Linked DNA regions of Homo sapiens: region 1 is linked to region 2. The links are contacts of gene promoters, found by promoter capture Hi-C in blood cells and fetal thymus (Javierre and others, 2016). All regions are on one chromosome and are shown on one strand. The core of a region is centred on a gene start or on the middle of the fragment in contact, and the rest is flanking DNA. Distances in the headings are between cores, read along the strand shown.

Region 1 (3,455 bases), core at 390-2,889, 260 kb before region 2:
TAAGGTATGACATCATTTACATACAAAATTTAGCTGTTAATTCTAAATTGTTAAGTTTTAAAAATTTTGTTGTCAGCTAAATTGAATGTAGCATAATTCTAAACAAATCTTGGATTAATGTCATTGACCCCAAGCATCCTCTAGCCCTGGAATATTAGCATTGGCCTGTTAGTCCCCTGAGCTACTACTCCCTGGGAGGTGGTCATCCTTTCTTAACTCATTCTTTCCAGCCCTGGGGAGCCTCGGAACTTTTGTCTATTCACTTCTTTACAAAGCTGTAGCCTTCTGGCCAGAAGGGGCTTCCTTGAATGGTGCCCATGTCCTTCCACTTGCCTTTGATTGTCTGGAGTTGTGCTTTCTGGAAAAACAGGCAGGTTTCTTCCATTAGGCAAGAAACATCAGAAAATTAGAGATCTGTTCTGGTTTTCACTCTCTGTATCCTTAGCTCCTGGCATGGTGCCTGGCACATAGCAGATGCTCAAAAACACATTTGTAGAATGAAATGTCTTGAGACAATCTTTCAGATGTGTGAATATGACCATGATGTCCCCACATTGTCACCTCTTCTTCAGGTTTAAGATCCTTCAGTTCAGCCATTCTTTTCGATAGAATTTCCAGATCCCTTTCCCTCCTTGTTTCTCACCAAACTGTGTGACCACAGTTCACTGTCAGTCACTTAGAATGTGTGACCAGACTTATAGCTAGTTCTCTAGAAGTGGTCTGATTTGTAGCAGTATACTCAAGTGTGCCTTACTTTTTTTTTTCTTTAGCAAATCTCTGGTTGTTTATATTCTTTTACGTGATCAGCTGTCAAGCCTGGTCTCTTCCAAGAGGTGCTTTTGCAATTGTTTCCTTCTAGTTTAGTGTTACTTGGGATTTGATGAGGGTTCTTCAATATCCTTATGTGACTCATCAGTAAAAATGAGGAACAGGAGGGGCCCAAGGAAGAGTTTTGTGGAAACCTCCTTCCAAACTGACAATAATCCTCTAAATCCATGCTTTTCAAACTGTGATGTGCATACAAATTACCTGGGAATTTGGTTAAAATGCAGATTCTGATTCAGAAAGTCTGGGTGAGGCAGAGCTTCTGCCTTTGTAACAAGTTTTCTCTAAGCTTGTGCTGATGTTGTGGGTCTCCCTGATCATCTTTTGAGTAGCAGGGCACAGTTCTTGGGGAAAGTTGTTCATGAAAGCAAATCCTTTGGTATTTGGGTAGCTGTGCTGTACCCATCAGAGCCCCCAGCAGATACTATCTGATGCCGGTATTTGACACCCTATAATCAAACGTGCGTCTCCCATCTCACTAGGTAGATGAAGAAAACAACAGCAGGGCTGTCTTGCCAGCTTCCAAATGGTGGCACACCTCTGTGTATGTTCAATTGGACCTTTTATTCTAGCCAGACAAGCTGTTACCCAACATACTTAGTATCTTTTCAAGTTTCTTGTCATCTGGACATCTGATAAAGTGGTTGTGTATACTGTTTTTTTGAGTTATTAATCTGAGATACTCTCACATACCAGAAAGTTACAGAAAAGAGACAGTCAACAGTTTTTTAAGCATTGGCTAGAAAGTACAGTGTTACTGATAAAATTCTTTTATAAGAAATGTTATGGAGCATCCAATTTTTTTCTTACTCTATTGGAATTTGGATAAAATGGATGCACTGTTGAAATTACATTCCTAAACTGAAAGGTACTCATGCAAAGGGCAGCTTTTGAATCGTAGATGAGCAAGTGAGTTCTGTAGAAACACAGAGTAGAGAGTTCGTGATCACCTGAACTCCCTTTTCTCCAAGTTTTTAATCTTTTAGCTTAGGGGAGAGGTGCTTTTCTCTTGCCCTTTGTACATGGCAAACAGCACTGTGACCCATACTTTTTTGGTCATTTCAAAAAAAAATTACTATTAAGCATTGGTTAGAAAGTAAAGAAGTTTAGACAACAAAGCATTTGCACTTGTTTATTTTGTAGAGCTCATTGTGACCTGGTCAGTGGGACAGGACAGTTCTGTATACTGTTGATTAATATGTTCAGATAATTCTGGTTCCTAAATATTAGAGACAGTGTCTTCCTAATGTGTCACAAAAGTTGAATCCTGTAACTAGACATTAAATTCAAAAGTCCCAATCGGAGGATAAAGACAACAGCAAAAAACCCCAAAGCTTTGACACTGACAATTCAGCTGCTCTATTTTCATAAAAAATAAGCAATAATGCCAATATTCAATCCAGATTGAAAATGAAATGACTTGGATGTATTAATAGTAATTGAATTATAGAACTCTTTTTTTTTTTTTTTTTTTTTTTTAAAGATGAGGTCTTGCTGTGTTCCCCAGGCTGGTGTTGAACTCTCCTGGCTCAAGCGGTTCTCCAGCCTCAGCCTCCTAAATAGCTGGGATTACAGGTGCACGCCACCTTGCCAGGCTTGAATGATAGAACTTAAAAACAACTAGAGTGCCATTAACTTACCCCTAAATAACAATAGTTCTTTAATATCATCTAATACTCAGTCTATATTTAAATTTCCCTGATTGCTCAAAAATGCATTTTTTTTAGATTCATGCTTTACTTTTAATTGATGGCCCATACAAAAACTTTTGTAGGTTTTGAATATATACATATATAAACTTATATCTGTGTGTGTATACATATGCATACACAAACACGTGTGTCATACATGTATGTGTGTATACGTATACACACATATATTCCAAACCCACAAAATATATAGTATATATATATTCTTGTCCATCAATCTTTTATTTATGTAACCACAGCTTTCATATGGTACTTATGCTCTGTGCTTGCTGAATTATTAACAAAGAAGAGTGTAGTCATTTCTATCATAATTACTGCGTCTTCGTTAGAAGAGATTTAAAAAGTTGATGCAGCCACCCTTTCCAATCCTGTACTAACATGGTGTTAGCATCTTCTTAGAGATGCTGCCGTAATCCTAATTCTGCAACATTTGTGTCATTTTGAATTTGCCTTTCTCTGGCAGCATTTCTCATCTACTTCCACATATTTTTAAGATTTGTTGTGACTTCTGTTCTCTGATCTTCTCTTTCTATATGGATTACTGACCTTGAATTTATGCAGCTTCTCTTTCGGTTGTGGAAAGAACACTGCATGGGGGAAAAAGTCTGAGTTCACATCTCAGCTCCGTGTGGGGAAAAATGTCTGGATTCAAATCTCAGCTCCATCACTTACTAGCTGTATGACCTGAGGCAATGTATTTAACTTCCCCAATTACTTTGTAATTGAGCAACATATTTACTTCCCTTTCAGTGGGCTTCATCAAACAATACCACATATTGCTTAAAATATCCTAAAGCTCCCCAAAGTTGTAGGCAGGGAGGAAGCAAATTATTGGGTCACTGTTTATTGTCCCAAACTACAAGTTAGCATTGCCTAAGGAGCCAGGTTGGGAGGCCCCCAGATGAAGAAAGTGGGAGAGGA
Region 2 (3,720 bases), core at 903-3,402:
CCCAATAGACTGAATTGAGAGCAAGGGAGTGTTATGGTTACAGGATCAGCTCTAGCACCAAGCACAGTGGTTGGCACATATCTGGTGCTCAAGAAATGCCATACTTTAAACCAGATTCTCTCCTGGCTGAGTACCATCTCCTGCTGGATGCCCCACTTCAAACTCTGAACATAAGGTTGCTCTCAGTAGAGCAGGCTAACATGATGGACTGCTGATTACAACATTAGAAAACCTACTCATCAACTTCTCCCATTGGAGAGGTTCCCGGAACCCAAACTCAATTGAGCAGGATTATGTACCATCAAAATCAGTGGGAATTCCCAGCACACTACAGAAGGTAACTTCTCCTTCAACAGGGTTGTTCGAAAGCCTGCAAGGATGAGCTTTTTATTGGAGGACTCTTCCCTGGGTAACTGAAGTGGAAATACAGTAAGAATAAATGCCTTGATTTGGCTGAAAAGGGTTCAAAAACATAAAGAATTGGGAAAAAAAAAAAAAGCCAGTTCTTGATTCCTGAAAAACAGTGGCTCGTGAAAAAGAATGAACAGGAAGCAGGGGTGGGTACTGGACACTCTTTGCTTCAATAAATAAAATCTTTTTTTCCTCCTTACAACCCAAACGAAAAGGCCAACACACCAGGTCCACAAGAGATGCTCAACAATCTTTCCTTCCAACAAGTACACTAAACTGCGTTTCCAGAAAAACACTGCATTGGGAACCTCGACCACAATGAAAAGTTCCAGTGACTAACATAATTTTTTAAAAATCCAACATTTACATTGGGTGACCCACAGAGAACTTGCAAACTTTCTTTAGGGAGGTACTGCTACCTTTGCAAAGAACGTAACTTGGGAAAAACAACCTGGAAATATAAAGAACTCCACAAAGCGTGGCTTTAGTTTTAGAGCCATAATTCCTATCATAAACAGCCTATCAAAAAAAAAATTAACAGTTGCTTAAGGAAATCTTTCATTCTGGAAGCAGAAAAGGAAACAAACATGAAGCATAAAGGGAATAACCCCCAAAATAAAGTTTAAAAAATAATAATTCAGTCCCCCAGCCTTCCCTCTCTGGTGAAGTATGTGATTTATACGGCTTTGCTCTGCAGAAAGCTCATTCTGGGCAGCTCAAGGAAAGAGCCGAGGGAGGGAGAGAAAGAGACACAGGCACAGAAAGGAGAGGAGAGAGAAAAAGAAAATGGCGCAGAGACTAAGTCCCGACCGTCGACAAGGCGACTTTCCCGGGAGGAATCCCGGCCCGGAAAGACCGCCCGAGGCCCGGTGGCGGACGACACGGGGTCTCCGTTGTCCCCTCTTGGGAGGGCCGGGATCTGGAGGAGCTGGGGTCCCCGGAAAGGGGGTCAAGAGGCGGCCCGATGGGAACAATGGGGCCGGTGAGCGAGGAGCCGGGACTTAGTCTCTGGGACGCCATGTCTGTCCTCTGCCCGGCACCGGCAGGGCGCGGGGGAGGCGGCCGGCGGCTGGGGGGCCCCGGAGTCGGCGCAGGGGGCACACTCACCATTCAATCGGAAATCCGCTTCGATCTGGAAAAAGAAAAGGAGAGAATATCAAACAACAGCCACTTTAACCCCTCCGGCGGCGAGCGCGCGCGGCCGGGGTCTGGCTCACCCTGCGCCCCCGGGGAGGACGGGGACCCGGGGGTGGCCACAGAGGGCAGCCATCCCTGCCTCGAACTGTAACTTCGCGGCCCTCGCTCGCGGCCTAGCGAGCCGATCTACTCCGGCAGGCGGCCCCTCACCGGGGGCTCCGGCCTGTCAAAGCTGCCGGGCCGGGGCTGGGGTCGGGGCCTGCGCCGGGGGTCGCGGGACGGCCAGGCCGGGGTCCGGGGCCGCCAGGGTCAGGCCGGGCCGTACCTGGGAATCGTTGTGGAGGTGGTCCCCACTCATGTCGGCCCGGAGGGACGAGCGCGGCGGCAGGCGAGGCGGCGTGGGGGAGACGCAGACGGCGAACCGGCCTGTGCGGGCGGACGGGGACTCCGGAGGCTCGAGGAGGCGCAGGTAAGCGGCGGTGACTGTGGGCCCGAGACTCCAGAAACGGCTGAGGCTGCTACCACGGCGGCGACGCTGCCTGACTGCCGGGCGGGCGGCGAGAACAGACCCCAGCAGTTGTGTAACAGCCTAAGTTCGCATTTGGGCTCACTGCGCCTGCGCGGCCGCTTTTAAACAACACGTCGGCGACGTCAGCGCTCGCGGAAAGAGGCAGAGGGTTGCGGCCCGCCCCCTCGCTGTTCGCCAGACGGACCTGTCTTTGCATCGCAAGCCCCGCCTCCGGACCGTGCGCGCTCCGCTGTGATTTGCATAAGGAGCCGACTCCTCCCACGGCGTCCCACCCCAAGCAGCCTCCCCTTCCTCTCCAGACGCTTTTTCTCGGAACCCCAGCCCCTCTGCTAGGCAGTGCGCAGGCGCCACCCGGGCACCGCCTCCGGACCAGGGCTGGCCGCGCAGCCACGTGGTGGGCCTTTAAAGGCCGCGGCGGGACCCAGCAATCTTGGGCAGAGCTGGTATCCGGCGTCCGCATCTCCTTGGAGCGGCGAGTACCTTGGCAGCTGGGACCCCAGAGGTCTCCCCAGCGCCTCCTTTCTTGCTAAGCCGACCCTGAGGCCGCCTGGTGGGAGGAGTCCCCTCCCCAGCCTTTGTCCAGGCCCTCCAACTTCTGGATTATTTCACGCCCACTTTTTAAAAATTATTTTAATTTTTCAACCAACCAAGGGTCCGGTTTAACCCCAGTTTTCCGCCGAGTACATGTAGCCCTGGGTCACCAAGGGTCTGATTTCTTTGGTTCATTCTACAAATACTTATTGAGCATCCGCTATGAGCCCAGGAATTGTGCTGAGGGAAGGGGGAATGCAAGAGACCAAAGGGAACTGAACCTGTCTCTATCCGCCCCTGTATCCCTGGCATGCTGGGAGGACGGGGCAAATGGGGAATAGAACTACCGTTTATAGAGCATCTATTCTGTGCCCAGCTCTGAATTCTCACAATAGCTCTGTGAGGTCGCCTGTATTACAAAAGTCAAACTGTCCTAAAGACAAGGGACCAACAGCCAGCTACCTTGCATCTATAGTTGGATACCTCTCAAGCTTCTCTGGGAATGAACTGAACTCCACTCAGCTAGAAAAAGCCCCATCCTGACACCTTCCTTTCCCTCATTTCCCACTAGTCCCGCTGATTGCATCTCTTTGCTTCATCTACTTCTCTCTGCTGCCCATAAGCCTTTGAAGTCTGCGTTCTCCTGCTTGGATTAATACAATGTGCTGGCTGGGGGTGGTGTCTCACACTTGTAATCTTAGCACTTTGGGAGGCCGAGGCTGGCAGATCACTTGAACCCAGGAGTTCAAGACCAGCCTGGGCAACATGGCAGAACCCTGACTCTACAAAAAAATACAAAAACTGGCGGGGTGTGGTGGCATGTGCCTGTAGTCCCGGCTACTCGGGAGGCTGAGGTGGGAGGATCACCTGAGCCCGAGGAGGAGGTCGAGGCTGCACTGCACTCCAGCCTGGGCAACAGAGTGAGACCTGGTTTAAAAAAAACAAAAAACAAACCAACAAAAAACACCGCACTCCAAAACACTACACTTCTAACAGGGATTGCTGCTTCCATTCTTGGCCCTCTCGTAAACTGCATTCCAACAATTGCCAAAGTGATCTTCTCAATATGCTAATCTAACCATTACTCCTTTGTGGATATTGCCACATCTATT

Evidence for each region. The method cuts DNA at HindIII sites, captures the fragments that hold promoters and counts their contacts. A CHiCAGO score of 5 or more calls a contact.
Region 1: a contact is called between a fragment that was not itself captured here and the fragment with the promoter of TOP1 in region 2, in 1 of 17 cell types (naive CD8 T cells). The highest score is 5.2, in naive CD8 T cells.

Annotation. Positions count from the first base shown.
Region 1 is chr20:41,290,863-41,294,317 of GRCh38, reverse strand. The region is part of intron 1 of ZHX3 (zinc fingers and homeoboxes 3); the gene reads left to right. Among named protein-coding and RNA genes, the nearest start is that of ZHX3, 25 kb to the left of the region's middle. The HindIII fragment of the contact is 1,045 bases long and covers 1,117-2,161 here.
Region 2 is chr20:41,027,254-41,030,973 of GRCh38, reverse strand. TOP1 (DNA topoisomerase I) reads right to left here and starts at 2,152. Exons shown (of 21, transcript NM_003286.4): 1 at 1,874-2,152; 2 at 1,519-1,543. The coding sequence starts at 1,906. RefSeq lists silencers at 1,812-1,881, 2,102-2,453. The HindIII fragment of the contact is 6,355 bases long and covers 1-3,101 here.